2 separate regions of the Homo sapiens genome follow, and region 2 is linked to region 1. The links are contacts of gene promoters, found by promoter capture Hi-C in human tissues and cell types (Jung and others, 2019). All regions are on one chromosome and are shown on one strand. Each heading gives the region's core, a stretch centred on a gene start or on the middle of the fragment in contact. The rest is flanking DNA. Distances are from core to core; before and after follow the strand shown. Region 1 holds the start of TONSL (tonsoku like, DNA repair protein). Region 2 holds the start of ARHGAP39 (Rho GTPase activating protein 39).

Evidence for each region. Contacts are between HindIII fragments. The study calls those that stand out against the background at their distance.
Region 2: the fragment with the promoter of ARHGAP39 here is called in contact with the fragment with the promoter of TONSL in region 1 in 3 of the 25 tissues and cell types used here (dorsolateral prefrontal cortex, heart right ventricle and mesenchymal stem cells).

Annotation. Positions count from the first base shown.
Region 1 is chr8:144,442,218-144,446,814 of GRCh38, reverse strand. TONSL (tonsoku like, DNA repair protein) reads left to right here and starts at 2,375. Exons shown (of 26, transcript NM_013432.5): 1 at 2,375-2,425; 2 at 2,540-2,635; 3 at 2,791-2,933; 4 at 3,494-3,677; 5 at 4,009-4,138; 6 at 4,403-4,574. The coding sequence starts at 2,401. RefSeq lists silencers at 1,780-1,919, 1,960-2,729 and an enhancer at 2,975-3,483. The HindIII fragment of the contact is 9,197 bases long and covers 1-4,597 here.
Region 2 is chr8:144,683,648-144,688,244 of GRCh38, reverse strand. It overlaps ARHGAP39 (Rho GTPase activating protein 39), which reads left to right and starts at 2,399. Exons shown (of 12, transcript NM_025251.3): 1 at 2,399-2,559. RefSeq lists enhancers at 23-895, 2,082-2,693, 3,307-3,919, 3,920-4,532. The HindIII fragment of the contact is 13,771 bases long and covers 1-4,597 here.

The sequences.
Region 1 (4,597 bases), core at 1,126-3,625:
AGCTGGGCTGTCCTGTGGACCCTGGGGCTGAAGGGGATACTTAATCGTTGTCCAGGTAGCTCAGGGAGCCCCTCTGGTGTCCAAGCCACCCTGTCTTCAGCTGTTCATCTGAGTCCTCTGATTCTGAATCTCACTCCCCACTCCCTCCCTCAAGCCTCACTGTGCCCCTCACACACCTCACCAGCTTGCCCTCCAAGTAGTTGCCTTGGCTCAGAGCCATGCTTTGGATGGGCAAGGGGTTGGCAGTGCAGACCTCCACAACCTGTCCTCACACCCAGGCCTGCCTGGATTTCCTGCCTCCTGCAGCTTGTGACTGCACAGGTGTGCAGGCTTGGCCTGGTCCCACCCCTGCAGCCTTGGAGGCACCGAGGCCCAAATCTGCCCAGTCCAGGGGCCACGCCAGGAGGCCAGCGCTCTGCCGTCAGCCTGAGGAGGGCTCCAGCAGCCTTTACTGGACCCAGGGACCTGTCAGTGCATCACACCACTCTCTCCCCAACAGATCTCTCTGGCTGAGTTTTGCCCAACGACTTGCTGTAATTACGATGGAAATTAACTCATCTATCTTCCACTCCTGAGGCTCCTCAGTTGGACTCTGTGCACCCAGCCTCCTCTGGGGCCTCTGGGAAACCAGCCACTGCACCTGAGTGCAGTGCTGGGTGTGCTGTGTAGCCGGGAGTCAGATACCCAAGGCATGGCAGGTGTTTGGTCCTCAAGGTAATGGGGGATAGCAAGGGTATTTTAGAGGCCTGGGTGCCCCATGTCACAGGATTCTAGACATAATTTTGCAGTTGTTTTCTCTCTTTCTTCCTTTTTTTTTTTTTTTTTGAGACAAGAGTCTCGCTCTGTTGCCCAGGCTGGAGTGCAGTGGCGCCATCTCCGCTCACTGCAAGCTCTGCCTCCCGGGTTTACGCCATTCTCCTGCCTCAGCCTCCCCAGTAGCTGGGACTACAGACACCCGCCACCACGCCCGGCTAATTTTTTGTATTTTTAGTAGAGATGGGGTTTCACCGTGTTAGCCAGGATGGTCTCGATCCACTGACCCCATGATCTGCCTGCCTCAGCCTCCCAAAGTGCTGGGATTACAGGGGTGAGCCATTGCGCCCGGCCCTCTCTTTCTTCCTTTCTTTCTTTTCCTCCCTCCCTCCCTTTCTTTTTTTTAAATAAAGATGGGGTATCGGGCTGGGCATGGTGGCTTACACCTGTAATACCGGCACTTTGGGAGGCCGAGGTGGGCGGATCACAAGGTCAGGAGTTTGAAACCAGCCTGGCCAGCATGGTGAAACCCCGTCTCTACTAAAATGCAAAAATTAGCCGGGCATGCTGGCACGCGCCTGTAGTCCCAGCTACTTGGAAGGCTGAGGCAGGAAAATCGCTTGAACTCGGGAGGCGGAGGTTGTGGTGAGCCGAGATCACACCATTGCACGCCAGCCTGGGTGACAGAACGAGACTCCGTCTCACACACACACACACACGAAAGATGGGGCCTCACTATGTTGCCCAGGCTGGTCTCGTACTGCTAGGCTCAAGCGATCCTCCTGACCGGGCCTCCCATAGCGCTCGGATTACAGTGCGGGCCACTGTGCCCGGGCTACTTCTGCAGCTGAAGCACAGGTTCACTGACTCTTCCGAGAATACAGCTGGCATACACATTGCTGAAACAATACTTGTTCACTATGGAAAGCACATTCCCCTCCCAAAACAGTCCTTGGGGCCGAGTCCCCAAATGTGACCCAGCTGCGTTCTGCGGAGGAGGAGCGCGCCTGACACCTTATTACGTCCCCACAGCCAAATGCTCGTGAATTTATCGTCAGTCTATCTGGACACTACGTTCGTTTTTAATAGTTGCGCCTGTGAGCAGGCTGTGTGTGTGAATTTCGGGAGGAATTGGGGCGGCGGCACAGCTCGTCCACCATGAGTAGCGCGGGCGGCACGGGGGCTGCAGCCCAGAAGACCCCACCCAGGGCGCGCTGCGACCCCGGACGGGCTGGCTCCGGGCCCCCGGCCTCCCGCGTCCCCGCCGCCTACGAGGAGGAACGGGGTCCCCACCAGGCACTCCCCGGGCCGGGCAGAGGGCTCCACGCGCGGGCCAACCCGGCGTCCGGGAAGACGGCCCCTAGGGTGGGACGCCCCAGTTGTCGCCGCCACCCCGCCCCAGCTCCTCCCGCACGAGAACTCCGAGGATGCCGCGGGCGGGCCGACCGTACTTCCCGGAATGCCCCGCGCCCGCCGCCGCCGTCGAGGGGCGGGGCCTGCGTGTCGGCGGCGAGGGGCGGGGCCTGCGTGTCGGCGGCGAGGGGCGGGGCCTGCGTGTCGGCGGCGAGGGGCGGGGCCTGCGTGTCGGCGGCGAGGGGCGGGGCCGCGGCGCAGCGCGGGAAGTCCGGATCCCGCGGCGATCCGAGCATGAGCCTGGAGCGCGAGCTTCGCCGTAAGTTCCTCGGGGACCCCTTCCTCCGGGGGCGCGGAGGCTGGGGAGGGCTTGGGACTCGGCCCCGGCCCCGGACCCCGCCGCGGAGGCCCAGCCCTCCTCTTCCTCCCACAGAGCTGAGCAAGGCGAAAGCCAAGGCGCAGAGGGCCGGGCAGCGGCGCGAAGAGGCCGCGCTGTGCCACCAGCTGGGGGAGCTCCTGGCCGGCCATGGTGAGCGCCGGGACCAGGAGGCGGGAGGCAGGGCCGGGGCCCGGGCCCGGGCCGGGATCGGGGGCCGGGGGGCGACGGGCTCTTCCGGCAGACGCCGCCCCAGGGCCGCCCTCGCACCCGCGACGCCTGCCAGGCCGTGCTGTGCCCCCGCCTAGGCCGCTACGCCGAGGCTCTGGAGCAGCACTGGCAGGAGCTGCAGCTTCGGGAGCGCGCTGACGACCCTCTGGGCTGTGCCGTGGCCCACCGCAAGATCGGAGAGCGCCTGGCCGAGATGGAGGACTACCCGGCTGCCTTGCAGGTGCGGGCGCCCTCACTGGCCTCGTCCAGCCCGGTCGGCCTCTGGAGCCCTTTTCTGAGGAGGGAGGCCTGGTCTTCGCCGTCAGGAGCCTCGGGCTGGAGGGGACACCTGACCTGACGCAGCCTTGCCTTCACCGCCCCGGGCCAGTCCTCCGGTGGGGACCCCACAGCCTTTCCTGGGACTGGGGCAGGAGTAGGTTTCCTGGCACCAGAAACCATTACTGAACGTTATTTTAGCTGTGTTTGTGTTGGGGGAGGTCAGGCCCCATCCCAAAAGCTCTCCCTGACCCTGGCTGCTGGAGGCAGGACTGCAACCCCCCCGCCAACTCCCAGCTGCCCCTCCCCACGTGACAGCGTTGGCTGCATACAGCGTGAAGCCACTGTCACCACAGAGAGCCCTTGGCATGCAGAGGAGGGGCACGTGTCTGGCCTTGGCCTGCTCTGTGGGGGTTAGGGGGAGCAGGCTCTTTCCTTAGCAAGAACAGGGTCTCTGGGAATCTGGCGGTGCCGGTTTGCTTGAGGCGGAGTCGGCTCACAGCAGTGACTTCCTTCCACACTCAGCACCAGCACCAGTACCTGGAGCTGGCACATTCCCTGCGCAACCACACGGAGCTGCAGAGGGCCTGGGCCACCATCGGCCGCACCCACCTGGACATCTATGACCACTGCCAGTCGAGGGATGCTTTGCTGCAGGCACAGGCTGCCTTTGAGAAGAGCTTGGCTATTGTGGATGAGGAGCTGGAGGGTGGGCAGACCCCTCCGCGTTTTCTGCCTCCTGAACTTCGGGCCGAAGAGGCTGCAGCCCAGCACCCCCGCAGCCTCCTTGGGCAATCCCGTCTTCTGGAGCCCTCCCTTTGCAAGGCTCTTGTGTGAGGGGTGCATGCCCCGCTCAACCTTTCCCCTGGAGATCGTCAGCTCTTTATCCACTCTGTGCTCCATCTGCCGCAGGACACTTGCACCCACCTCGGGAGGAGGGAGGGGGTAGGAGAGGCGCTGCACAGGCCCCAAATGGGGCCCAAAGCTGGAAACCCCATGTGGGGAGGAAGTGGCTGAGTGTTTGGGGGGGTATCTTCCAGGGACACTGGCCCAGGGAGAGCTGAATGAGATGAGGACCCGCCTCTATCTCAACCTGGGCCTCACCTTTGAGAGCCTGCAGCAGACAGCCCTGTGCAACGATTACTTCAGGAAGAGCATCTTCCTTGCGGAGTAAGGCCCTGCCCCGCCCCAGGAGGGAGTGGAGTCCCTTGTTCCTGGAGGAAGTAGTTAGGGGAGTATTTTTCCCAGAGTCCTCCTGAGAGAGCAGTCTGGCTGGGCCTCATCCCCCCACCTCTCACACCTGTGCCACACACTGGGAGAAGGCCAGGCATGGTTAGGGCCCTGAGACCACAGCATGGCAGGGCTGGGGCCCGTGTGGCATCAGCAGCTGTCATGGACACTCCTGGGTGCTCAGTGGTCGTCACCCCTCTGCAGGCAGAACCACCTTTACGAGGACCTATTCCGCGCCCGCTACAACCTGGGCACCATCCACTGGCGCGCGGGCCAGCACTCCCAGGCTATGCGCTGCTTGGAGGGTGCCCGGGAGTGTGCGCACACCATGAGGAAGCGGTTCATGGAGAGCGAGTGCTGCGTGGTTATTGCACAGGTACCCGCTGTGCGTGGCTCCGA
Region 2 (4,597 bases), core at 1,150-3,649, 240 kb before region 1:
GTAATCCCAACTACTCAAGAGGTTGAGGCAGGAGAATTGCTTGAACCCAGAAGGCAGAGGTTGCAATGAGCCAAGATGGCGCCACTGTACTCCAGCCTAGGTGACACAGCAAGACTCCATCTCAAAAAAAAAAAAAAAAGAGTTAAATGTCCTCTATAAATATTTTGTATATTTTTAATTAGTTAAGTGTGTGGTCACCAGGGTGGGAAATGCTCACTGTAAATGTGTGGTCATGGGGGTGGGAAGTGCTCACCGCTAGTATGTGGTCACGGGGTTGGGAAGTGCTCACTGTAAATGTGTGGTCACGGGGTGGGAAGTGCTCACCGCCAGTGTGTGGTCACGGGGTGGGAAGTGTTCACTGTAAATGTGTGGTCACGGGGTGGGAAGTGCTCACTGCTAGTGTGTGGTCACGGGGGTGGGAAGTGCTCACCGCCAGTGTGTGGTCACGGGGTGGGAAGTGCTCACCGCCAGTGTGTGGTCACAGGGGTGGGAAGTGCTCACTGTAAATGTGTGGTCACGGGGTGGGAAGTGCTCACCGCTAGTGTGTGGTCACGGGGTGGGAAGTGCTCACTGCTAGTGTGTGGTCACGGGGGTGGGAAGTGCTCACCGCCAGTGTGTGGTCACGGGGTGGGAAGTGCTCACCGCCAGTGTGTGGTCACGGGGTGGGAACTGCTCACCGCCAGTGTGTGGTCACGGGGTGGGAAGTGCTCACCGCCAGTGTGTGGTCACGGGGTGGGAAGTGCTCACCGCCAGTGTGTGGTCACAGGGGTGGGAAGTGCTCACCGCCAGTGTGTGGTCACGGGGTGGGAAATGCTCACCGCCAGTGTGTGGTCACGGGGTGGGAAGTGCTCGCCGCCAGTGCGTGGTCACAGGGGTGGGAAATGCTCGCCGCCAGTGCGTGGTCACAGGGGTGGGAAGTGCTCGCCGCCAGTGCGTGGTCACGGGGTGGGAAGTGCTCGCCGCCAGTGCGTGGTCACGGGGTGGGAAGTGCTCACCGCCAGTGTGTGGTCACGGGGGTGGGAAATGGTCGCCGCCAGTGTGTGGTCACGGGGGTGGGAAGTGCTCGCCGCCAGTGTGTGGTCACGGGGGTGGGAAATGCTCGCCGCCAGTGCGTGGTCACGGGGGTGGGAAATGGTCGCCGCCAGTGTGTGGTCACGGGGTGGGAAGTGCTCGCCGCCAGTGCGTGGTCACGGGGGTGGGAAGTGCTCGCCGCCAGTGCGTGGTCACGGGGGTGGGAAATGGTCGCCGCCAGTGTGTGGTCACGGGGGTGGGAAGTGCTCGCCGCCAGTGCGTGGTCACAGGGGTGGGAAATGGTCGCCGCCAGTGTGTGGTCACGGGGGTGGGAAGTGCTCGCCGCCAGTGTGTTGTCACAAGTTTAAGGTGAAGGCAGTCAGCCTGGATGTGTGATTTTCTTCAGCAGTCATGGAGGAGAAGGGTTGGGCTCGCCCAGTTGGGTTTTCTAAGTGAATACAGTGGAGAGGGAGCGGGAGGCGAAAAAGCAGAGCCCTGTGTATAAGAGTGAAGAGTGAAGTGTGACGACGGCCCAACAGGGAAGCGCGGGCGGCGAGACAGCCCGACGGGAGATCTCCTGAGGCGGGAGAGTCCCTGCAAGGCGACTGAGCTGCAGGGCAGGAGGTGGAGCTCCACGGATGACTTTTGACGGGGGCCTTTCAGCCCTTTGCGGCTTCTCACAGTTGAGGACCCAGGGAATGTCCAGGACTGAAGGGTGTGCGCCCCTGTCTTCTACTATCGAAGCTTCAGGCTGTTTAGCCTCCGTTTCTCCAGAAATGCCAGTCAGATTCAATTTCCAGAAACGCACCTGGCACTAAGAGAATCTAGAAAACCAGGCTGAACGCAGATTAGAAAACGCCGAATAGAGCACTAGTCGAGCTGCAGCTGAGTGAATTACCGAGTAAAAGTGACAGGACTAAAAAGGTGAGAATAACAGGAGGTGAAGAGACACGAGCCCGCCACAAGAAGGACTGAGGAACAGGGCAGCCCACGTTTTGAGAAGAATGGCTGTATTTCTAGAGTCGAAGAAAAGTGAAATCTCAGACTCGGGAAGCCCAACGTGGTTTGAGAGGGCAAAATTACACCAAACCACACCGAGACGTGTCAGATGGTAACTGCTCTGCACCGAAAGAGACGGGAAGACACCGCTAACTCACAGGGTAGGTCCGCGCGGGAGGCCTCTGGCGCGGCGACGGGGCGGGGCCAGGCGGCTCCCAGCATGCCGCGCGCGCCCTCCGCGGGACTCCGGCTCCCGGCATGCCGCGCGCCAGCGCATGCGTGATGCGGCCTCGCGAGGCAGTGCCCCCTGGCGGCGGGTAGTGACCGCCGCGGGGGCGGAGCCGGAGGCGGGGGGTTGCGCTTGGTGACGGGAGGACGCGCGGCCGCCGCGCACTGGGCCGGCGGCGGCGGCGGAGGACGCCGACAGCACGGGCTGCCGCGGCAGCAGCGGCGGAGCAGCAGAGAGGCCGGGGAGCGGCGGCTGGCTCACGCGCGTCGCGCGGGCCGGGATGAGGGACTGTGGCGGCGCGGCCCGCGCGCAGCCGGCCGGTGAGAGCGCGGGCAACGGGCGGTGGGCGGCGCGGGCCAAGAAGATGGCGGAGGGGCCGGCGCTGCGGTCCCCGTGGTCCTGGCCCAGCCTCGGCGGAGGCTCCAGGCCCGGCAGCGCAAGGAATCCAGGCCCGCGGCGACTGCAGCGGCGGGAGGGGCTGTGACTGGGCCGTGGAGGGAGGGGGCGTGGGTGTGCGGGGCCCGGCCGGGCGGGGGGCGCGGAGGCTCGAGGGGCCGAGGCCGCGCGGGGCCCGGGTGCGCGCCGACGGGCCGGGCTGGGAGTGTGAGGGTGGGTGAGTTCGCGTGTGCCCGGCCCGAAGTGGGTGTGACTGTACCCTGTCCAGAGTGAGTTGTGTCCCTGCCCTAGGTGGGTGTGAGTGTGCCCGGCCCCAATGTGGGTGTGGGTGTGCCCCTGTCCAGAGTGAGTGTGAGTGTGCCCCTGTCCACGGTGGGTATGAGTGTGCCCGGCCCGAGGGGAGTGTGGGTGTGTCCGGCCCCAGGGGGGTGTGAGTGTGCTCCTGCCCGAGGGAGGTGTGAGTGTGCCCGGCCCTAGATGGGTGTGAGTGTGCCCCTGCCCGAGGGGGGTGTGAGGGGACCCCGCCCGTGGTGGGTGTGGGTGCACGTGTGCCCAGCCTGAGCTCGGGGCACCGGCCGCATTCCCGGGCGCCGTCGGAGTGGGGACAAGGTGGATGCCCGCCGGTCGGGTCTGGTGCCCGCGTCCTGAAGGGCGGCCCGGGTGCAGGGCTGCGGTGCGCTGCGGTGCAGCCTCGGGCTTTGTCCCCGGGGCGCAGGGAGCGGACATGGGCGTCTCCAGGTGGGGTCATGGCCGCCTGCGGGTGGGCTCTGCGGCCTCGCCTCTGCGGCAGGCGCGGGCTGGGGCTCCGGCGCTCGGAGCCTTCCCCTCCCGGTTGCCCCCCGAGCTGGAATTCCCTCGGTTGCTTCCCGGTTGCTTCCCAGTTGCTGGAGTGCTGTGGGTGGAGGCGGCGTTCCGTGCCCAGGGCGGCGAGAGAGGCGGGCTGTGCATTTTGGGGCCCAGGACGTTTTTTATTTTAAAACGTGCAGCCGGCTCCTTGGCAGCTGTGGGTGTGTTCCGAGCCGCTTCCCACCAGCAGCTGCTGTGGGCGCTGCGCAGCTTCGGAAACGCAGCCGGGCCCCCTCCCCCTCAGTGCTGTACGGGTTTAACCAGACCTCCAGTGACCTCTGCTGAAAAACCTACAGTGGTGAGGCTTCTCGTGCCTCCTGGTACAACAATACGGAGATTTGTCTTTTGAAGCCAGTGAGGGGAATTGGACGCTGCGTCCTAGGTGCCCTCTATAGACAGCAGGTGGTTCCGTCGGCGGCGCCCGATCCACAAGGAGCAAGGTGCGATTCTCGCGCCGGGGGAGGGAAAGGCGATTTGATAGGAGGTGTGGCTGTAAATCGAGGAGACTCATTCCATAAACCGCCCTGGGCGCAGGCTCTGTAGCCATAAATGCTTGGAGTGAATGAATGGGGGTGGCGCCTCGCTCCCTGCACTTGGTGTAGCCAGCTGTCTTCCTGAGAGGCAGGGGAGCAGAGTGGACAGGAGGGCGGGTTCTGGAGCCAGGCTGCCCGCCTCTGAGTCGCGACTCTTCTGTTTACTGGCTTTGTGGTCTTCGGCAAGGTCTCTGTGCCTTTGGCTTCTCATCTGTAAAATGGGAACACTAATAATATTGGCCTCATAGGGTTGTTGTGAGGACTCAGTAAATTAAGACTTGTGAAACACTTTGTTCGTGGCACACTGTGTTTTAGAAAGTTAGGAATGGTTATTACTGCCAAGATCTGGTGCTTCCGGGGTGCATGTGCTGGGTCAGTGGGTCTTCAGTTTCTCCAGCACTGCCAATGTAATGTAAACTGGAAGTTTACATTAAGCTGGAAGTCTGTGGCGCTGGTTTCTCACACAAGAAAGCTGAGGTCATATTTGGATGAACACATGTTTATAAAGGTAAAAGAGAGACAAGCCTCACATACTTAGATGAATTATTATATAAGATTGTTTTAAGACGTTCTTAGAGAAAAA